7 separate regions of the Homo sapiens genome follow, and regions 2, 3, 4, 5, 6 and 7 are each linked to region 1. Evidence: promoter capture Hi-C in 16 types of primary human blood cells and fetal thymus (Javierre and others, 2016). All regions are on one chromosome and are shown on one strand. Each heading gives the region's core, a stretch centred on a gene start or on the middle of the fragment in contact. The rest is flanking DNA. Distances are from core to core; before and after follow the strand shown. Region 1 holds the start of TMEM167A (transmembrane protein 167A). Region 2 overlaps CCNH (cyclin H). Region 3 holds the start of ARSB (arylsulfatase B). Region 4 holds the start of LOC105379065 (a long non-coding RNA gene). Region 5 holds the start of JMY (junction mediating and regulatory protein, p53 cofactor). Region 6 overlaps HOMER1 (homer scaffold protein 1). Region 7 holds the start of TENT2 (terminal nucleotidyltransferase 2).

What was found. Contacts are between HindIII fragments. The CHiCAGO score rates a contact against its expected background, and 5 or more counts as called.
Region 2: a fragment that was not itself captured here is called in contact with the fragment with the promoter of TMEM167A in region 1 in 3 of 17 cell types (total B cells, total CD4 T cells and naive CD8 T cells); the score reaches 14.6 in total B cells.
Region 3: a fragment that was not itself captured here is called in contact with the fragment with the promoter of TMEM167A in region 1 in 2 of 17 cell types (total CD8 T cells and non-activated CD4 T cells); the score reaches 7.8 in total CD8 T cells.
Region 4: a contact is called between a fragment that was not itself captured here and the fragment with the promoter of TMEM167A in region 1, in 1 of 17 cell types (total B cells). The highest score is 5.2, in total B cells.
Region 5: a fragment that was not itself captured here is called in contact with the fragment with the promoter of TMEM167A in region 1 in 3 of 17 cell types (total B cells, total CD4 T cells and non-activated CD4 T cells); the score reaches 6.3 in total B cells.
Region 6: a fragment that was not itself captured here is called in contact with the fragment with the promoter of TMEM167A in region 1 in 1 of 17 cell types (total B cells); the score reaches 6.7 in total B cells.
Region 7: the fragment with the promoter of TENT2 here is called in contact with the fragment with the promoter of TMEM167A in region 1 in 1 of 17 cell types (total B cells); the score reaches 5.1 in total B cells.

The regions. Positions count from the first base shown.
Region 1 is chr5:83,075,890-83,078,921 of GRCh38, forward strand. TMEM167A (transmembrane protein 167A) reads right to left here and starts at 1,505. Exons shown (of 4, transcript NM_174909.5): 1 at 1,432-1,505. The coding sequence starts at 1,434. XRCC4 (X-ray repair cross complementing 4) reads left to right here and starts at 1,658. Exons shown (of 8, transcript NM_003401.5): 1 at 1,658-1,726. RefSeq lists enhancers at 621-1,586, 1,243-1,512, 1,587-2,552 and a silencer at 1,573-1,662. The HindIII fragment of the contact is 1,765 bases long and covers 724-2,488 here.
Region 2 is chr5:87,407,239-87,410,270 of GRCh38, forward strand. CCNH (cyclin H) reads right to left here. Exons shown (of 9, transcript NM_001239.4): 3 at 2,052-2,125; 4 at 738-948. Among named protein-coding and RNA genes, the nearest start is that of CCNH, 4.2 kb to the right of the region's middle. The HindIII fragment of the contact is 6,127 bases long and covers 1-3,032 here.
Region 3 is chr5:78,983,564-78,986,595 of GRCh38, forward strand. ARSB (arylsulfatase B) reads right to left here and starts at 1,747. Exons shown (of 8, transcript NM_000046.5): 1 at 1,374-1,747. The coding sequence starts at 1,685. RefSeq lists a silencer at 1,070-1,929. The HindIII fragment of the contact is 1,365 bases long and covers 766-2,130 here.
Region 4 is chr5:87,072,764-87,075,795 of GRCh38, forward strand. All of the region lies in intron 1 of MIR4280HG (MIR4280 host gene), which reads right to left. It overlaps LOC105379065 (a long non-coding RNA gene), which reads right to left and starts at 2,506. Exons shown (of 3, transcript XR_948540.3): 1 at 2,314-2,506; 2 at 1,417-1,558. RefSeq lists an enhancer at 2,406-2,455. The HindIII fragment of the contact is 2,520 bases long and covers 293-2,812 here.
Region 5 is chr5:79,233,857-79,236,888 of GRCh38, forward strand. JMY (junction mediating and regulatory protein, p53 cofactor) reads left to right here and starts at 2,275. Exons shown (of 11, transcript NM_152405.5): 1 at 2,275-3,032. The coding sequence starts at 2,795. It overlaps LOC124901011 (a long non-coding RNA gene), which reads right to left and starts at 2,167. Exons shown (of 2, transcript XR_007058836.1): 1 at 1,955-2,167. RefSeq lists silencers at 2,177-2,226, 2,267-2,316, 2,347-2,786, 2,957-3,032 and an enhancer at 2,729-3,032. The HindIII fragment of the contact is 528 bases long and covers 1,230-1,757 here.
Region 6 is chr5:79,509,989-79,513,020 of GRCh38, forward strand. It overlaps HOMER1 (homer scaffold protein 1), which reads right to left. Exons shown (of 9, transcript NM_004272.5): 1 at 2,782-3,032. The coding sequence starts at 2,786. It also overlaps the pseudogene RPL29P15. Among named protein-coding and RNA genes, the nearest start is that of HOMER1, 2.6 kb to the right of the region's middle. The HindIII fragment of the contact is 1,134 bases long and covers 1,049-2,182 here.
Region 7 is chr5:79,610,883-79,613,914 of GRCh38, forward strand. TENT2 (terminal nucleotidyltransferase 2) reads left to right here and starts at 1,559. Exons shown (of 15, transcript NM_001114394.3): 1 at 1,559-2,193. It overlaps LOC124901014 (a long non-coding RNA gene), which reads right to left and starts at 1,455. Exons shown (of 2, transcript XR_007058840.1): 1 at 1,260-1,455; 2 at 589-1,138. RefSeq lists an enhancer at 1,164-2,363. The HindIII fragment of the contact is 9,139 bases long and covers 1-3,032 here.

The DNA of each region.
Region 1 (3,032 bases), core at 255-2,754:
TTGAAACCTCACTTCGTAGCTCTGCAAACAATGTACTTTTGACATCCCAAGCTCACAGGAATAAAAAACCACCTGCCAGTTGTTTCCGTTTTCCACCTATGTCTAATTTATGTACTTATATTTATAAGAAACAAATCACTAAGTCTTATTTCATCCTTAGTTATGTTGTGTTTCTATCGATAACAGCATGAAGATTTCGGGGACCTGGACATTAAAATAAGTTTGAGTACTGGCTTTACAATCTACTAGGTGTGATCCGAGGCAAGTCAGTCTCTTCATGTTTCACTTCTTTCACTTGTAAACATCTATTCAGAAGTTGCTGTGAACTTGATATTTCCATGCTTATAAACTGATTTTTTGAAAAGAGCCTGGTACATAGGACGTGATAATAAATGAAAGCATTTGCTACTTTTGGAAAAACAAGCATGACAAGATAGTTTATATACTGTTGATCTTAAGCACAGTATATGCATCTTATTTTTAGCTAGTCTGACAGTGAGATAATAAAAAGAGTTATCTTTGACTTGCACTACGAGTAGAAGAATTCAACTTCAGTTTCTAGAAAGATGTATAAGAATTAAGAGTGGCAGTCTTCCTAGTCTCAACTGCCATCTTCCCACCAGGTGGTAAATTCGTCCAGAGAAGAAAATGAATTATTGCTATATGGGATTCTGCAGCAACTTCTGTGAACATAGGCTCATAATTTTTCACCATGGAGACTCAAGCTTTTTGGAGTCATAGTTGTTTTTGGGTCTATTTGCAGGCATGCATCCTTTGTCCAGAAATATACATAACATTTGGCACATGGACCTGGAGGTAAAAGAGGAGGAAGGCCTGAGGCTAGACACCACTCCAATAAGTACATTAAGCTCCTAGAAGGGCAATCCACCTTTGCAGAGAACTCTTAACTATTAAAACCTATAGCTTGTAAAGCAGCATTTTCAAAGTTAAGAGAAGAAGGTGGAAGGGTCTTGAGAGGCTACTGACTAAACAGATGAAAATGAAGGTATGGAGTTTGGTGCCAAAAGAAACTCCCCCCAAAAATCAAACAATAACACCAGAGTAAAGCCCCTAGGGCGAGATAAGGAGTTGCAACAAAACAAGCGGAAACTCGAGAAGCGCTAATGCTTCAAAGGGTCAATGACCACACATAATCTACGTAGCCAACGTGTTAAAACACACCAACGCATTTTTTTTTCCTAAACAAAGTAGGAAAGCGGACTTTGCATGAGGGGCGGGCTGCCGACCCAGCAGTCTTCCTCGGACAGTCCGTCCTGATTCTCTCTGGTTGGCCGTGGAGGGACCACATGGCTCCAAGGCCTCTCAGCTCCGGGCCCACACACCCCGGGCTGCCGCACAAACTCCAGCCCTAGTCTAGATCCACAACCCCTTCTCGAAGATCAACCGCGACCTGGGAGCCCCACTTCTTACCATAGCGAGGCCGGCGATGCCGCAGCCACATCACCCTTCCGGGGCTCAGGCGGAAGAGGCTGCATGTCCCGTCTGCCCTTCTCGCCCTCTCCAGCCGTCCGGTTGGGCTTGTCACGGCACCGCCTACCAAGACGGGCGGTTAAGACACTAGGATAGGCTCCTCTCCACCGGAAAAGGCGGGATTTAGATCACGTCCCGCAGGCCGGCGGAAGTAGCTGATACTCTCATTGGTTGCAAAACCTTGATCTGTGAAAGCGGGCGTTTTGGAAGATACCGGAAGTAGAGTCACGGAGAGGTAGGATCCGGAAGTGGGGCTGCCTCTTTAAATAACAAAAATCTGAGGTTCTGTTCTTTTTATCTTTTTGCTTTCTTTTTAAAAAAGTTCCCTGCTACTTACCCCTAGAACTCCACAATGCGAGAATCCCCCTCAATTTGTGAGCTCCCGCGACTTCCTCTTGTGGGCTTTTGGGGATGCTAGGGTTCTCGGCATTATCCTCAGGGTGCGACCTGTTCACCCCCTTTTCAGTTTCTCCGTTTGCATCTGAGGGATTCTTGGGAATGCGAAGCACTTTTGAAATGCTCTGTGTTGGTTGTGGGATTGGGAGGACGGTTGAATCCAGAGGGTAGTGTTGAGTAGGCTGTTTGAGCATTTCCCCAGCACTGGCCTGTCCTTTCAATCCCCAGATATTGGTAAACTGTGGGTTCCAACCAGGCATCGAGGCTGAAACGTACTAGGCAATTTGAGGTCAGGAAAGAACTTTCTGTGGTAACCAATGGGAAGGAACTGCCGTTTGCGGACTGCAGCGATTGATTAGGTACTTTAAAGAGATCAACTGGCAAGACAAATGACAAGGCAACTTTTAATCAGTAGTAGTATTTAGCTTTTTCTGATTTTAATTATCCCATTAGGTGAGGTTCTACTACACACACACGTTTTTCTTTCTGCATTTTATCGATGGAGAAACAGGCGCTTTGACATGTTTGAATTTGCGTAGTTCTTGGAATTCTAATAAAGTATTAGAAATGAGAGTTTTTCACTCTTTGCCCCCTTATGGCAAGCTTTTGGTTCTAAATGTGTGGTGTATTTTTTCTCAGGCAGGAGAGAGTTCTTTTCAGAATGTTTTCAATTTTTTATGGACTTAGAAGGTGGATAGAGAGAAAGAGAGAAGGTAACTCACGTGAGATTTTGGTTTATGAACTGTATTCGGCCTATGAGACCCTTTTGTATTTAGGGCAACACAATGATTAGAAGATTTGGGATTCTGCTATTTGTGTTTACATTGTTCACTAGGGCACACAAAGGTTTTGTTTTAAACTATAACTAACTTGATATTTGAGTCTGTTATATTGAATTGTCAAGAGTTGGTCAAATACACAAATTAGCAAGTATTTACTGGGTGCCTGCTTTATTCATGGATCTTCAGATTGCAGCATAGGAACAAAGATGGTCTGTTCCTTTAAGGAATTTAATAAGGTTGGGGGAGAGGGGAATAAGAAAGGTATTTAAAAGATACAGTACTCTCCACCTAAGGATAAAAAAAGTCTTTTAATGTTCTGTCTTGTAATTCCTTTATATTATACCTTTTAGGTCTTGCCATTCA
Region 2 (3,032 bases), core at 139-2,638, 4.3 Mb after region 1:
CCCTCTGTATCATTGAGCACACTGGATATATGATTGTCTAAAACCTTTAGATTGTAAGGTTCACAAAAGTTGAGACTGTTCCTGTCCTATTTCTGGTTACATCCTCAAGCACAAAGTTTGGCACATAGAAGGTACCCAAATTGAGCCACTGATCTAACATGAATGAACCAATTCCTGATTTGATTCGACTCAGACTATCCAACTTCTCTTTTAGAGCCAAACAAAACAACTTAAAAAAGTTGCTTTTGTCAATGTTTGTTTACGTATATTATTGATGCCTACATAGTGACTTAAGTTCACAAACCTCTAAAAATATAAGTCACTTAGCAATCTTCTAGTTTAAGAATTTTTTATGGTTTAAATCAGGCCCAGATCCATGACAATATAATTCAAAGTTAGAAGAGTTATCTTAAGCCTTTATAGTAAGCACCGTTCTAAACTCTCAATGGTCTTCATTACATCCCTGGATGTAATGAAGATCACTTAAATGAGATTGCAGATCACTTAAATCAGAAACTCTGTAAGTCCCACCCAACAATCTCAGTTAACAATTTCTCCAGATGACTGATGATGCCCACTGAAGTTTGAAAACAACTGCCCTAGATGACCAGGCCAGACCCACAGGTTGTATCCATGCTATAACAACGAGGATGATTATGAGTTTTAAAATTTTGGATTCTTTTGTTAAAGAATAGGAAAGGAGAATGTAGTATTAGTTTATTTTACATCAAGTTTACCTTTAAGTCGATGAGGAAGCCCTCAAATGGTCTGTAAGGATTGTGGACAATAAGGTGGAAATTAAGTTGCTGTATAAGAAGTAGTTCATATTCCAGTATCTGTTCAAGTGCCTTCTCCTGTCCAAGAGGACTCTCCCGGAGGTTTCCAACAAACTGAGGACTAGATACATTGAATTCATCTACTTTGCAGGCCAAAAATGCACAAGTGAGCCTAGAGGAAAAAATAAGGAGGCAGGAGGCAGGGGGTGGGTGGGGTGGAAGAACATGCATATACTTTGAGAAGTATCTAAATAATTTATTTCTAAAAGTATATTCTATAATTGCCTAATATTCAAAAGCGACTGCTAGACATTGCAAGAATTGTTTTTTAAAAGACACTTCCTGTTCACACTTCATTAGGAGACGTAAGACAACTATAAAATTAGGTCAAACCAATATTGCCATGGCATTCAAACATCACTGACTCAATGACAGTGTTATGCAGTACAACCTAAATATCTGGAAAAACAAATTAACTGAGGAATAAGAGTACTTTGTATAATGTAGATGGAAGAGTTAAAAATAAAGCAGTACCCACATATGTACCATGTAAGTATGGGAAGAAAAGTAGGTTAAAGGAACATTGTGGAAGGCCATCGGCAGAAGTCTCTAAGGGCATCTGAATAAGGGACTATTATTTAAGGGACAAACTTGTGAAATTCACCTGGCCACTTCATGCTGTTCAGTATGAGAAAACAGTAAGAAAGCTACTGTAAAAAACAGTTGGCAGTGAGATCAAGGGCCTAATCTTGACTGGTGGAAATGGGAATCAAAAAAGAGAAAACAGGTACAATGTCATTGAGAGCAAACTCTTTGATGAGTTTCATACTAATTTCATTTTTAATGATAGACACAGCGCTCAGCAGAGAGCAGCAACAACAGACCTTTGTTCAACTGAAATGAGTATGAAGCTATAGGATCCGTAAACTGACTGGATGTGGGAGGGGCCACTATAAATGATTCTCAGTCTGAACAACTGGAAGAACAAAGGTGTCTAATAGGAAGAGATGTTAGAGAAGTAGCTAATTTGAGAAAAACAAAATTTGAATCTGGACAAGCTGAAGTTCACATACCATCAGAATTACTGAAGTACAGGTAAACAGAGATCTCAAGTTCTGAATAAAAAAAAAAAAATAGAATTCAAGTCTAAATTACCCTGTATTAGGAAGTCAGTTCTCTCTCTCTCTCTCTCACAATTCTCTCCTCCCAAAAAATACTCAAAAGATTATAAAGGTCTTCTTAAATGAAAACAATATATTAGACAGACATACTCACATTATTATCCTGGGGTGATATTCCATTACTGAGTTATTAAGATAAAAACGTTTGAAATACATACAAGCCGTACCCTAAGGGTTAAAAAAAATATATCATCAGGATCTAGTCACAAATGTTAAATGTTAAATTTTGTGAAACAGAACTTATTTATGGAAAGGTTTCTTTGTAGAGATTACCCAGAAAAATACTAATACTCATTAATTCTTCTTTAATCAAAACAAATTGTGATGAATTACTACAGAAATGCCATAGCCAAAAGATTCTTTCCCATCCTTTGCTTGTCTATCCCCAGCCTACTCTGGCTAATCCTTCCTATGGTCACTGGATTTAAAAATACGTGTGTGTGTGTGTGTGTGTGTGTGTGTGTGTGTATTAGAAATCAGACTATCAAAAATGTTCTGAATTAGATAAATTCAGGAAGAAAAATACAAACGTTCACAGATTAACCAATCTTATAAAAATACTGACAAAAAAACATGGGCAAGGCAATAAGCCTTCTCTCTAAAGCCACTCCATATTTGTGATATAACCATGTATCCATTCCATGATTTGTGATCACTGCTGCCAACTGAATGGCAGAAGCAGCACTACCATTTATTGAATGTATACCATGTGCCAGACTCTGTGCTAAACACGAAACTATCATCATGTTTTAATCCTTACAACAGCTTGGTGAAGTATTACTATCTCTACAGAGAAGGAAACTGAGTATCAATGAGGTTAACTGACTTATCTAGGTCACACAGCTAATAAGGAACAGGAATGAATTCAAGTAAGACCTGCCTGTACTTTTAACCATTATATCATTTGGCTGGAACCAATGAAATAACCACTTATCTATTTTATGATAGAAAAAAGAATATTTCCTTTTAAGTATTTTAAAAGTTTAGTTTTGTCATTATGTAAAACAAAAAATTATTCACCAATGATAAACATGTTATTTAAAAATAAATTCCATAAAGAAGTTCATTAAAGGAT
Region 3 (3,032 bases), core at 198-2,697, 4.1 Mb before region 1:
GGTGAGATTTACACAATGTAGGGGATTCCTAATTACACGTAGCAGCCAAGGTCAGAACCGCCAAAAGTACTAAGGTGGATGGTGAAGGGAAGCATCCTTTACTCCCATTTCTAACCTTGGCTACAGCTATTTCTCACCCTTAGCAACACCCAATCTTTCCTCTTTATAAAAGCCTTCAGACCACTGCGCATATCTTTATCACAAGTAAGCCCTCCCTTCTCTTGATCTTAGGACCACGTGAGGCTAGGGTTGATCTGACAGGTTATGCGAACACACACTTGGGAGGGCAACATTCAAATATATATCCCCTGTCAGTAGCACAGTAAGCTCAAAATATTTTTGTTGAGTAAACAGCATATGTACTCTGTGAAGGCATGCAGGTGGTATCCAACAGTTCCCATTTACTGTATTTAATATGGTCATAATAACTTCAGGGTCTTAGAAATATGACAATCGTATTCAGATTGAGGGGAAAAAAGGCCAATTTCATAAGCCCGGGACGACCAGTGGATGCAGGAAAAGCACAACGGACACTGCCTTGACCACTTTCTAGCTGTGCGATTCTTATGCCAACGAGCCTTTACAGGCTTCCTGCCTCGTCTGTAAAACGGGGTAAAAACAACTACCTCATGCACTGTTTCAATAATTCACTTTAAAAACAACAAAGTGCTATGCAAATGTTCTTGATATTCTTAGCCATCTAACATCTATGCACGCTCTACATTTATATTTCCTTCGTTAACTGTGGAGCCGTTCCTAAAGGGAAGCTTTTAAAGCGATAATGAAGATGCTCAGAAGAGTTCAATACAAGGTTACATGTGAAAGGAATGTCAGCAGCCTAAGAAAAATCAACCTAGCATCAGGTTTCATTCCAGGGGTGTTGAGAACCTGGAAAAAAATAATCTTTGGTGGGACACTCCTAACCTATCACCGCTGGGTTCCCACGGGCCAGGGTCGCACCCACGGCGAGCACCCCTTCATTTTACCTCTCCCCTCGTCTTTGCTCCCAGCCCACGCCCTCCCCAGCCTCCCACCTCAGGACCGCTCCGCCTGCCGGCCGCGGCGCCCAGCACCCGGCATTCCCATAAACCCCTTCGCCCGGAGCTTCAGAAAACGAAAGACAAAGCCACCCGCCCAACCCGGCGGCCGGGGCGCGGGTCCGCGGGGCGCCAGAGCCGGGCATGCGCAGAGGCCGCGGCGGGCTGCCGGCCTGGAAGAGCGAGGTTGGGGCGAGAAGCCGCCGGGACCCATAACTGGGTCGGCGGTCCGAGCCCCGCCTGCCAGCGCCCGCGGCCTCAAGGGCCGGGTAGGAGCGGCAGGGCGCCGGCGAAAGGCGGGGCGGGGGCGGCGCGGGCGGCGGGGGCGCCGCGTACCTGGTAGCGGCCAGTGAGCAGCTGGCTCCGCGACGGCGTGCACAGCGGCTGCGTGTAGTAGTTGTCCAGGAGCACCCCGCCGGCCGCCAGCGCGTCCAGGTGCGGCGTGCGGATGCGGGAGCCGTGGAAGCCGACGTCGTTCCAGCCTAGGTCGTCTGCCAGCAAGAAGACCAGGTGGGGCGGCCGGCTGGCCCCGGCGCCCGAGCCCGGCGGCGCCAACAACAGCAGCAGCAGCAGCGGGAGGACGACGGGGAGGAGCAGCCGCCGAGGTCCGGGGCCTCGGGGCAAGCTCGCCGCGCCGCGCGGACCCATCCTTGTCCGCCCGCGGTCCCAGCGCCTGTGGCGCCACCAGCCCCTTGTACCGCTGATAGAATGAGGAACTGGGCTGCCGGGGCCTGCTCCGCCCCGGCGCGGGACGGCACCCCCAGCGGGCCGTGGGCTTGCGAGGCCGGGCGCTCGGCCCCCGCCGCCTCCGACCCGGGCCCCCGGCTGCTGTGGCGGAGGAGGAGCCAGAGACGAACCCGCGGGCGCCCGCTGCCCGGCTTCTTGGAAACTCAGCTGACGCTTGGAGGGCACCAAGGCCCGTTATCTTCCCCGGCAATTAAATTTGCACTGTGGTTTCCTAAAAAAAAAAGATGTGTTCTTTAATAACGCTTCACAATTTACAAAGCATCTTCACAGCCCGCGTCTCCTGTAAAGCCTGCAACAACTCTGACAGTTAGACATTATAATTAGTGCCAATTTTTCATAAGAAAAAAGCTTATAAATGGTTAAACCTCTGACTCAGATCCTGAACCATGATGTCTAGCTAGCAAGTCATTTCTAGCACAAGAGCCCAGCCTGTGGCAGGTGGGAGGACGGTGAAAAGGCAGAGGTCTAAATAGCCTTTCACATTCATTTATGCGTAGTGTACACCCATGAAGCCGCTTCCTCCCCACTAGCAAACAGGAGGCCAAACACACAGTCTGATTGCACGGTGCCCTTTGGAAGGTGCGGTTACTTTCAAGTTGCCCTGGGAGGATTTGGAGTGTTGCGTGGTCATTGAATAAATAGCTCATTCGCTTGTCCGGATATGACCCCACTCAGAGCTGGCTCCCCCACTAAGCAGTGACACTAAGAAGCACACAGTATCTAGTTAGCCTGAAATATCTGAGTGGAAGGAAAAAATCCTTTAGTCACGTGCTTATTGAATTAGGAAGTTAGCCGTATGACCAGTAGATTCCCGTTGCCATCCAGACTTTCTGTCTACTCTGTCTGGAGATATTATAGTTGTTAACAGGTGTAGGGGAAAATTTTTGCATTGCCTAGAGACCATACCCTTCCAGGTTGAGTCTGATTCCGTGGAAGTTGTTTACAACTTTATAAGTTATAGATAAATAACAATGGAAAATAATTCTTATTTATATATACACAAATGAACTTTATCCAGCGGAGTAGCAATCCTTCCCCTCCACCACTACCAAGGAAAACAGTTTCACCTCCGCTTGCATATTTATTTTAGTATTCCTGATCTGTTCTTTGGATTGTCCTTTGAATTGGTTTTAACACCTTACCAATTTCCTTATTAATGAGTTAAATAAAATCATGTATTCACTTTTATATTTGTATGAGGGTCATGATTTTACCTTTTTTTCCCCAAGAATCCTTTAACACATGAAA
Region 4 (3,032 bases), core at 303-2,802, 4.0 Mb after region 1:
TACACGCGCGCGCGCACACACACACACACACACACACACACATATATCATACAAAAATGTCCACATGTTATATTGGTATATTTTTCAAAGTAAATTTATAGTGAACATTTTTCCCATCTTTTATTATCTCACCTGGATGCTTTAAAACAGCCAAAAACTAAAATACAATATCCATGTTGCAATCTGGTTATGCTTTGGAAGGATAAACATCTATAATAACCTTAAAATATTTTAAAATTATATAAAATAGGTGAATTATTACACTAGCAGCAGTAAAATTTCTTACCAGAAAAGCTTGATCTAACAGTTGAAAATGCCATTAGCCTTCATGGAAGACAAGAACATGCTCTCTACTTTGCCAACAAACATACAATATAAGTTTTCTTCTACAAAATAAATTCATATTTTGAAAAGCCATACTTCTGGAGCTTTGATTTACATTTCTGATGGTGGCGAATTAGGAAATTAGACTAAGCACATTAATGAATCTAGAGGATAGTCATTTTCAGTCCAATAATGATATGAAAGCAGTACCCTACCAAAAGATTATACCTAACTTCACATAAAACTTCCGATATTCTAGAAGATGGCACCAACATCTGCAACAGTAATAATAGTAGTGATCCTTTATTCAGCCTTAGTAATTATGTGCAAACTTTATATGCAGTTCATAACTGGCAATGGAAGTAAGACAGCATTTGTATAGTGTAAGATAGCAACCTGTCCATGACTGCCTTGGTCACAAAATCTCTGTGTCCTCTGCAGTTCCAGGATGAATATGAGTAACTGCAGTTGTGTATTTTACGCTAGTGAAAAACATTAAAATTGATGAAAAGGCAAATACAATGTGCTTAACTGATCCCTCCCCTCAAAAATCTAACCCTTGTGTCATTTTTTAAAATGGTTAAGAAATAGGTTGACTTTCTGTACAGCATGAAAATTTCTTTGGCTCAAGCCTCCACTAGAAAACCTAAGACAAGGTCAGGTGCAGTGGCTCATGCCTGTAATCCCAACACTTTGGGAGGCCGAGGCAGGCGGATCACGAGGTCAAGAGATCAAGACCATCCTGGCTAACATGGTGAAACCCTGTCTCTACTCAAAACACAAAAAATTAGCCAGGCGTGGTGGCGGGCACCTGTAGTCCCAGCTACTCAGGAGGTTGAGGCAGGAGAATTGCTTGAACCTGGGAGGTGGAGGTTGCAGTGAGCCGAGGTCGTGCCACTGCACTCCAGCCTGGGTGACAGTGCGAGACTCGGTCTCAAAAAAAAAAAAAAAAAAAAAAAAAACCTAAGACAAATCCTACTGGATAACACTGTCCTTCAACACATGCAAACCATGTGGTGACAAAGCAAAAATAAAAAAATCACTATTTGAAAGTGACCCCAATCAAGGCACCCAGACTCACTGGTTACTCACAGTTTTTTTTCTTGCCCTTCCGGTGGTGTACACTGTTTTCAGAAGGTTGACTATTCACTCTCCAATGGCATAAGCCTGTTGCATCATATCTACAGGTGTTACCCTGTAGATAACTTGTATCCGTACCTTTCAGAGATGTTAACTGTAAGGAAGAAACCTAAAAAATTCATTCTGATAGAATGACCCTCCATCAGGTCCAATTCTTTCTAAAGAAACCTCTCTTGTAGAGAGTGCTTGTGTGGAAAAGAAACAACTACATTCAGTGTATGCAGAAGTATGATCCTCCATACTTACTCTGAGCAGTCTACTTTTTCACTATTAAAGCTCCATCTGTACCTGATATTGCCTATAAGGTCACCACTATCATCTCCAAATTCAGACTTTTAGCTCGGTACAGCTCCAAATCCTCCTTAGAATAAGCAAGAGTGATTCCCTGAAGTGGCACCGTGAAACGATGTCAAAGCATTAATGTTCCTCATTAACATAAGATACTGGGGAACATTATTAAAGACAAACACATATGAACAACAAAAGGTAGTTCTCTGCCCCAGAATTTCGACTCCCTCCCTTACTCCATGCAATTTCAGCCAGTAAAGAGCTTGGCTTGCTTTTTACAAGCAGGGTCTCCCTCTATCGCCCAGGCTGGGGTGCAATGGTGCAACCATAGTTCACTGCAGCCACAAACTCCTGGGCTCAAATGATCCTCCCACCTCAGCCTCCCAAGTAGCTAGAACTACAGACACATGCCACCATGCCCAGCTAATTTTTTAAAAAAAAAACTTTTTGTAGACACAGAGTCTCACTATGTTGCCCAGGCTGGTCTCATACTCTTGGCCTCATGCAATCCTCCTGCTCAGCCTCCCAAAGCACTGGGATTATAGGTGTGAGCCACTCCACCTGGCATAGCTGGACATTTTTACTGTGCAAATACTAAATATTTGAGTCACCCCTACTACTTTCTCCTATGACCTGGACGATGCCAGCACTGAAAGGTAAGTGAGAAGTTTGAGGAAGTCACTGAAAACTCAGTAGACATTCAGGCCTTCATCTGCTTTTTCTTCCAATTGAGCTGGATCCATGGAGACAGAGTGAACAGCATTGGACAGGAAGCCAAACTTAGCTAGGTAGCACAGAGGTCTTAGATAAAGCAAACAAAGCAGGGCTTTGTGAGGTGACAAAAAGGAAATGAGCAAAGTCACACCCTAAGCCCATCCTCCAGGCAGTCCAGTGAGCAGGAAACAAAGCCACAAAACCAATGGCCCCAGTGTTGAGAATATACCGTACAGGTGGTCAAAAGGAAGTTCAAGTTAGGTTCTGCCTTTTAACCCACTTCAATGTATTCTAATTGCCTACAGTTGTACTCTAAGAAAATAAGGGAAGGGACTTCTTACTTTTAAGCTTATATTAAACATCACATATTCATATACTGAAGCTCTTTTTAAAAATAAAATGAGTCTAATCTTACAAAATGTTTTCTTATATTAACAAAGAAATCTATGAGTAATTGCTAACAGTGCTATTTATTTTAGAAACTGAAAAGAAAAAAAAAATGAAAGACAACTTAAAGATTTACATTCTGCCCAGATTCTCCTTGTCACTTAGCAAGGATAAACCCA
Region 5 (3,032 bases), core at 244-2,743, 3.8 Mb before region 1:
CCGAGTAGCTGGGATTACAGGCACCTGCCACAACGCCCAGCTAATTTTTGGATTTTTGGTAGAGACGGGGTTTCACCATGTTAGCCAGGCTAGTCTCGAACTTCTGACTTTGCGATCTGCCCACCTTAGCCTCCCAAAGTGCTGGGATTACAGGCGTGAGCCACCGCACCCGGACTATTTTTTTAAATAATAATTTTTTTCTTTTTCTTGTCCTCTACTCTGAAGAGAACTTGTAAACAAATTCTTTTAATACTCATTCTCTGTATTCACAATTATACATAATGGGATCATGTCAGTAATGCTTTATCAGAAAAACTAGCTTTTTGCAGTTGCTTTTTAGCAAAAAAGAAGAGAAAGTTTTCTACAATGTGCTATTGTTTGCTTAGCTGGTAATTCAAACCTTTTTTCTTTTTTCTTTTTTGAGGTGGAGTCTCTGTCCCCCAGGCTGGAGTGCGGTGGCATGATCTCAGATCACTGCAACCTTCGCCTCCCGGGTTCAAGCAATTCTCCTGCCTCAGCCTCCCAAGTAGCTGGGATTACAGGCACGTGCCACCACACCCGACTAATTTTGTATTTTTTATAGAGACGGGGTTTCACCATGTTGTCCAGGCTGGTCTTGAACTCCTGACCTCAAGTGATCTGCCCACCTCAGCCTCCCAAAGTGCTGGGATTACAGGCGTCAGCCACCATGCCCAGCCCCGTAATTCAGATTTGAAATGGGTTTTCTCTCTTTTTTGCCTTTCAGAACGTGTCTCTGACTTGCATTTGAGATTTGACACAAACTCAGTTACAAACTTTGAAAATTTGTGGTTTCAAATAATGAACTGTACAAAATGTTAAAAACCAGCTGGGCTCAGTGGCTCACGACTGTAATCCCAGCACTTTGAGAGGCCAAGGCGGTCGGATCACCTGAGGCCAGAAGTTCGAGACCAGCTTGGCCAACATGAAGAAACCCCGTCTCTAATAAAAATACAAAAATTAGTCGGGCTTGGTGGTGTGTGCCTGTAATCCCAGCTACTTGGGAGGCTGAGGCAGGAGAATCGCTTGAACCCGGGAGGCAGAGGCTGCAGTAAGCTGACATCGTGCCACTGTGCTCCAGCCTGGGCCACAGAGTGAGACTCTGTCTCAAAAAAAAAATTTTTTTTGGCTGTTTATTCAAATATCAGGACAATACTGAACCAAGTGTTGAAGCTTAGAGTTTAAGATGGACAATACTGAACTAAGTTTGAAGCTTAGCTAGTTCAGTACTGTTCTGTCATCTGAATAAACAGCTGTTTTTACTGAACCTAACAATACAAGGCTAATCCAAACGGTTTTGTATATACTTTAGAAATGTGAATAAATGTAAAAGAACTAATTTCCATTGTGCTTTACTATGGTGCACAACATCTGTGACTTGAATACTAATCGGAAAAAGAATGCCAATAATTATTATAAAGTCTACTAATTTTAAGAATGTGTTTCATCATAGTTTAGTAAGAATAGCAGAGATTGATATGACTGTTTTTGTATATGCATTCTGGGAACTCCCATAATTGAATACAACTTCAAAAGGGCTAAAGCCCAGTGACCTCAAAACGAGGTTCACAGAACAGTACATAATGATGAAACCTGAAGCAATAAAACACCAATGAACTGAAATGTAAACATTCATGCTGTTAGGACATGGCATTTTCATTTTTCATTTTGTTTTGGACTGTTACTGGGCTTTCCTCAGACACCTTCCTTTCATATATTAAACTCTGTCTTTCCAGAAAAGCTTCTGGAATTGTTTTTGTTTTTTGTTTTGGTCTCAAGGGCATTAGGGGAGAACCTAACAGGCTGGGGGCGAGCCCCACATAGTTCAGCACACCGTTCCCCGCGGCAACACGCTACTTCTGAACGCAGGAGCGACTCTCCGTCCGGGCTCCCTCCAGGAGAATGGAGGCAAATGTACATTCGAGGGTCTCAATACCTGGAATTCGAAACGTCTCAGTTCCTCCGCCTTAGTTCCTCTTTTCCCGGGTTCGGAGGCCACCTGTGCAGCAGGGCACACCTGCCACTCTCATCGCCCTCGGAGCCGGCAACCAGCCGACAGCCGGCTCCAGCCCCGGGGAACTGGAGGCTGCGCGGAAGGAAGGAGAGTCGGGAGCGCGGCCGCTCGCGGGCTGGCTCAGGGGACGCCGAGAGGAGGCGCCGGCGCGCGCGGGCGGGGTGCGCGCGCCGCCGCCGCCGCGTCACCAGCGTGCGGCACGTGCCCATGTTTACGTCCCTCGTGGAGCCGCCGACGTCAGCAGTCGAATGGCAACATTGTGGCGATGCTGAGGCGCAGAGTTTAGGAGACGGGTTCATCAGTCAGGCCGGCTCCGGGCTTTCTGCAGCAGCACCAGGGGCGGGGGCGGGGATCTTGACCTGGGCGAGCGACCGGGACGCATACAGCGCCGGCCTGACCCCGCGGGACCCGCGCCTCACCACCGGAGCGCCGCAGACGCAGCTCCACGGCCTCGCGCGGGGGGCGGCGGGCGGCCGCGAGGCGCTGCGGCAGCGCGGAGCTTGTAAACAGATCCGGCCGCAGGTGACCATGTGAACTACCTGCTCCCGGGACGCTTATTGTCCTTCTCTCGATCCGCGCCACAAAGGAGCTCGGCGGTCGGGGCGCGGAGGGACAGGCGAACGAGCCGGGAGAGCCGGCCGGCGCACTAAGATGGCTGAAGGCGCCCGGCGAGGGTGAGCGGGGGGCGCGGCGCAGCCAGCGGGGAGTCCTCGGGCGGGCCGGGCCGGCGGCCCTTCCCCGCGGCGAGAAGCCGGAGCCACCATGTCGTTCGCGCTGGAGGAGACGCTCGAGTCGGACTGGGTGGCTGTGCGGCCCCATGTGTTCGACGAGCGCGAGAAACACAAATTCGTCTTTATTGTGGCCTGGAACGAGATTGAGGGCAAGTTTGCCATAACCTGCCACAACCGGACGGCCCAGAGGCAGAGGAGCGGCTCCCGGGAGCAAGCGGGGGCGCGAGGGGGCGCCGAGGCCGGCGGAGCTGCGTCCGACGGGAGCCGCG
Region 6 (3,032 bases), core at 366-2,865, 3.6 Mb before region 1:
TTAAAGCCCTGTTTCCTTTTGCTTGAAATAGGTCCAGGCAGCTATGCTAATTCCACAAACATTTATTAGGCATAAATACGCATAAAGTGTGGAAACGTCAGCAAATGCCTTTGCTGTATGCTCTTCTACTTCCATCTACCCTTCCTCTCTCTACTCAAGTCACTATCAATGAGAAAGGGTCATAGCCCCAAATACAGGCTTTCCAAAAAAAAAAAAATAGCACCACAAAATGCTCGCTCCTTTTTCTCCTCAGTCCATATATAGAACTTTATTAACTAAAGGGCAGATACATTCATTTATAAACAAATTAATTATGCTAAGTGTCTAAATGCATGTTATGTGTGGTGCTAACTTTCCCACTTTAAACAACAGCCCCCTTAGTATTAAATTCATCCTGTCTCTTCAGATTCTAGGCGCTTCAGGAGCCGCGCCTTAAGGTGCAGACATGGCCAAGTCCAAGAACCACACCACACACAACCAGTCCCAAAAATGGCACAGAAATGGTATCAAGAAACCCGAAGCACAAAGATACGAATCTCTTAAGGGGGTGGACCCCAAGTTCCTGAGGAACATGCAGTTTGCCAAGAAACACAACAAGAAGGGCCTAAAGAAGATGCAGGCTAACAGTGCCAAGGCCATGAGTGCACATGCCAAGGCTATCAAGGCCCTCCTAAAGCCCAAGGAGGTTAAGCCCAAGATCCCAAAGGGTGTCAGCCGCAAGCTCAACTTGCCTACACTGTCCACCCCAAGCTTGGGAAGCATGCTCGTGCCCGCATTGCCAAGGGGCTCAGGGTGTGCTGGCCAAAGGCCAAGGACAAGGATCAAACCAAGGCCCAGGCTGCAGCTCCAGCTTCAGTTCCAGCTCAGGCTCCCAAAGGTGCCCAGGCCCCTACAGAGGCTTCAGAGTAGATATCTCTATCTGCCAACGTGAGGACAGGACTGGTGCGACCCCCCGCCAGGCTGCCATCTGCATGGGGCTGTGGGGCTGGGGTCCTCCTGTGCTATTTGTACAAAGAAACCTCAGGCAGGGAAAAAAAAATTCATCCTAAGCTTCCCTTGGTAAAATGACAGGCATTCATGCAGCTTAAAGGTTCTGGAAAACTGATTTTCTTCCATGATGCTACTACTCCACAGTCTAGACAAAATGCAGCCATCAACATGAAAAACTGCTGCTTGATTTTTTTTCCTCCAACATGTTTTAAACAGAGCTGCAGATGCTCAAGGGAAGCCATATTTCTAAGGTTTTGAACAGTAGTATTTTTCAGTATTTTTCTCATTTAAAATTGGTGCAATTCATCCAAAACATTTTTCAAATGCCATTATTTTTCAGCGTTAAGCGCTTAAACTGCTTAGAGTGAAAAAGGTCTCCATCAGAAAGATCGACTTGCAGAAACCAACTAGTGATCATTAAAATGAGGAGGAGAATAAAAAGAAAGCAATTCGTTTTTTACAGTTTGGAGAAATCTTTAAGTCATCTCTAAATCGTTCATTTTACAGGTAAGAAATAGAGTCCACAGAGGTCAAGTAATTTGCCTCAGATCACTAAGCTACTAATAGCAGCGCTAGAAATAGAATGAGGTATTTTAATTACTCTTAGCGGTACCCCCAAATCATGCAAGTTATATATATTCTCATCACTTGTCATTCAAGTTTTTAAAACCATTATAACTTTGTCATTAATTTCTGAGGAACGTCTCCTACAACATGCTCTAAATTTTCAAAGTTATGCATGTTAAACTTCAAATTCTAACTCCAAAAGGAAGGTACTATTCAAGAACTTTCCTCAGAAAGTTTCAAGCGTGTGTACACACCTAAACCATCACGATGAATTGCAGAGTCCATTCTTTAAAACATGCCCCTCAACTACACTTCAGATGTGTTTGTTCAACCACACACACACAAAAAGAGAAAATTCTGGAAGTTCTTCTGCCAAAAAGCAGTGACAACCTGTCAATGAAATCAGATTGCTCCATTAATATATTATGGGTTTCCAGCTTAAATTAGGAAGTGTCACTAGCATTTCATCAACCCACAGTGTGAAGAGTTAATAAAAGACTGGAAAATGCACTCTCAGTTGGCTCTGGGTCCGAAGGAAGGTGTAGATCTGATACTGTTAACTCAAACTGAAGGGCTGAGCTTAAAAGCGAAAAACAAAAGGAGTGAACAAGTTCCTTAAACAAAAAGCTTTTTCCTACGAAATGCACCCGTACCGTGGTGACCGCATCAGTAAGACTGAATTTCAGATTTTCGTTTTAACGCCCCAGTAAATCAATTCTATACATTTTAGCTTTGAATATTCAAGGACAAGACAGAGGGCACGGTGAGGGCAACAATTTACTCTGGATCACTTTCAAGGACTGTTGTCTAACCACTCATTAAAATCGTTCCTTTGTGCAACTGATTATCTAAAAGTACTGAGAGAATGCAGTACTTCTCTTTGAAAGATAACCGTCAGCAAAAGCTAAAATAATGTGATTTTGATTACAAACTGATGCAGCAGTCTGACCAGTAAAGTGTAGAATGCGTTGTCTTTGTAAACATTACTCACAAATCCATATTCAAGTTACAAACGATATATGTGTTTTTAAATTATGACCTCTGGTACCGCTCTACAAAAATGCAAAAATAACCTAAAAGGTTAGCATGCCTATTTCTTTAAAGTATGACCAGCTTAGCAAGGTGGCAAGTTTGTTTGAAAACACAAAACACAATCACCACCACCGCTCAATAATACACATACATAAACAGATTCGAAGCTGTGTTAAGCACAAAAATCCTTACCCCATTTTGCCCAATGAAAACTTGCTCTGAAGTTTCAGCTCTTATGCTACGGAATAACTTCCAAAGGAATTTCTCCGTCTGCTATTTCGCAGTTGCTTTTCCACCCCCACCCCCAGATCCTTGTCCGGAGGTATTTCAAGGATGCTGCCAATTCAATTAGTTCTCTTAGGTAAAATGATTTCTCTCTTGTAAATACCAAAACGTTCAAACAGAGGCGGCATTTGCTTATTCGAGTTAAAATGCTTTGCGGA
Region 7 (3,032 bases), core at 309-2,808, 3.5 Mb before region 1:
TTCAAATGCACAGTGAGTATTTACCAAGACAGACTATATACTCTGGGCCACAGAACAAGTGTCAATAAGTTTAAAATTATTAATAGTGTACGAAGTACCTTCTCTGATCACAATGGGATTAAATCAGAAATCAGTAACAGGCAGCTACCTGGAAAACTCCTCCACATTTGCAGACCAACACTTACAAAAAACCCATGGTCAAAAAAAGAAAGCAATAGGGAAATTACAAAGTATTTTGAAATGAAGGAAAATGAAAATACAATATATCAAAATATGTGGAATGTAGCTAAAACAGTATAGAGGGACACTTATCACACCAAATGCCTGTACAAACAAGAGACATCTAAAATTAATGGTCATCAGTTTCTGAGTTAAGAAACTAGAGAAACAAAACAAGAAATTTAAAAATTAAAAAATAGCAGAGTAAAGGAAACAATAAACATAAGAGCAGAAATCAATAAAATAGAAAACAGAAAACCAGTAGAGAAAATCCAAGAAAGCAAAAACGGGCTTTGAGATTTGAGATCCGTAAACCGAGAAGCCCCTCACCAGATCGATCAGAAAAAAAGATGACACACAAATTACCAATTTCAGAACCTGAGGGGTCAGATTTTATAGACATTAAGTGGACAATAAAGGAATACAGCTAACAGATTTGCATTATTAAACAATTTAGACATTTCTACAAATTATTAAAGCTCACTCAAGAGGCGATATCAATAAATATTTGTTGAATTAGTGAATACCAGCTATTACTATGGGCAAGGCGCTAAGTCCAGGCTTTAGAGAGAAAGAAAGCATTTTTTTTTTTTTTTTTTTTTGAGACAAAGTCTTGCTCTGTCGCCCAGGCTGGAGTGCTGTGGCACGATCTCGGCTCACTGCAACCTCCGCCTCCCGGGTTCAAGCGATTCGCCAGCCTCAGCCTCTTGAGTAGCGGGGTTACAGGCGCACGCCACCAAGCTCGGCTAATTTTTGTATTTTTAGTAAAGATGGGGTTTCACCATGTTGGCCAGGCTGGTCTCGAACTCCTGACCTCGTGATCCGCCCGCCTCAGCCTCCCAAAGTGCTAGGATTACAGGGGTGAGCCACCGCGTCCGGCCAAAGAAAGCATTTTCCTTCCAAAGAAGCTCTCAGGTTACTGGAGGGGCAAAAGAACAGATAAAGTTTAATGTTGCTCCGGGGGAGAAGATTAGGGGAACACTGGTTAAAGAAAGGCTTCTCTGGGGACAAGTCACTCGGCCAACACACGAAGGACCCACAGAAAACGTCTGTTACAGCTAGAACGGCTGCACGTGAGTTCAGGCAAGGGGCCCAGAAGTGGCCCTCCGGCGACTGCCTGCTCCACCCCTCTTAGTGCAGTCCTAACCCTTTCCCAACTTGTGCTGGCAGCAGTTAAGAAACTCCTTTCAAATCCGGCTGTCTTGCGCCTGCGCATTCAAGCAAAGCGCTCATAGGCGGGGTGGGGGGGGTGGGGGGGGTTGGGGGGTGGGGGGGGTTGGGGGGTGGGAGGGAGGCGGCCACCGGAAGTGTGACCTTTCGCTCCCCGCTGCCTATTCTCATCCGGGGTCACGTCGGTCTTCCGGGTGTCTTTGACAGGGTTTTCTACGCCGCTTTTTCGGCGACTTTTTGCTCTTCCGCTTTTTGCCACCGCCCCCAACCTTCTATATCCTTGCAGCCCCTACCTTTTCTTGTGTTGCTCCTCCCCTGGCAGCCGTGAGGGGGGTTAGATCTCAGCCGGAGCCGGAGCTGGGCCTAGCTGTCCCACGGGCCACCACTACCTCCTTTGGTTCGGGAGAAAGCTACGACCAAGTACGCCCAGCTCGGGCCTTAGAACTTCTGAACGGGCAGTGCGGGTAGGCCCTGCTTAGCCCTTCCCGGAGGACACCTGTGAGTTTAGGGGGTTTCGGAGAGGAACGCAGCAGTGTAGGCCCAGGTCGGCGGCGGGGCACGGGAAACTTTTCCGAAACGGTAGCGTTTTGTTTTGCGTGGGAGGTTCCAGCAGTATCTCTTGGTTATTCCAAATTTATGGGCGGCATCTGGGCTGCTGTACATTTTGAAGAATCTTAGGACCGCTTACTTTGCTTACTCGTTTTCTATTCCTCGCGTACTGCCTCGTCCACCACTCCAGGACCAAAAGAGGAAGATAGTCTTGGGACCCTTGCATGGTGTTTCAAAGGGTGGTGAAGAACTAAGGTACGTAGCTGGATTAATTAAAAAATTTAAAAGGCATTTATCTTTTAAGCCTTAATTAAATGGCATGAAATTGCTTCAGCTTTTCACTTTATAGGAAAATGCACAGGTTAAGACTGTTGTGTGCGTTTCTTTTCTTGTTCAGCCTTTGTAGAAAAGCTCTTCGTCTCTCAAGGTGAGAACACGAAAGGCTTATATGTCTCAAAACTTATGGATTCTCTAAATTACTTGTCTTATCTCTTTCAACTCTTTGTTTAAAGTAGCAGATATTTTTCATTAGGGTGAACAGAGAAGAAACAAAGGGAAACTGTAAAACACAAGCTAAATAACACATGTGCAGTGTATGATTTTGTGAAGAAAGAGATTGTAACTGATTACTAAATCTGTGTTTTTATATTACAGGTAACATAGTAACTTTTGTAAATATCTTCATATTGTATGGTTCAGTACCACCAGGCTTCTAACACGTACTGATTAACAGCCATAAGGCTATTAATTTATACTGATTAATAGCCAGTAATAGTGACGTTACTTTGTTGGTGTGAATAGCCCTAATTATGTCTGTTCTGGAAATGTCCTGTAACAGGTTCCATGTGAAATAGGCCGTTTATGAGTTGTTTAAGAAATGCCCATTTGGAGCCATGTGACTAGATTATTTTTTTGAACACTTGGGTGTAATTTAATTCTTAACCAAAAGGAATATCCTGTTCAAAACCTGGAAGTAGTTTTCACAGTGGGTTGGCAGGATTTAGGAACTGGATTTTTCGTATTGTGGAGAAAAGTGGGTTTGAGATATCAAAGGTATTTGGACAAAATGGACAGTATCTTGGTTTAGCCAGTAA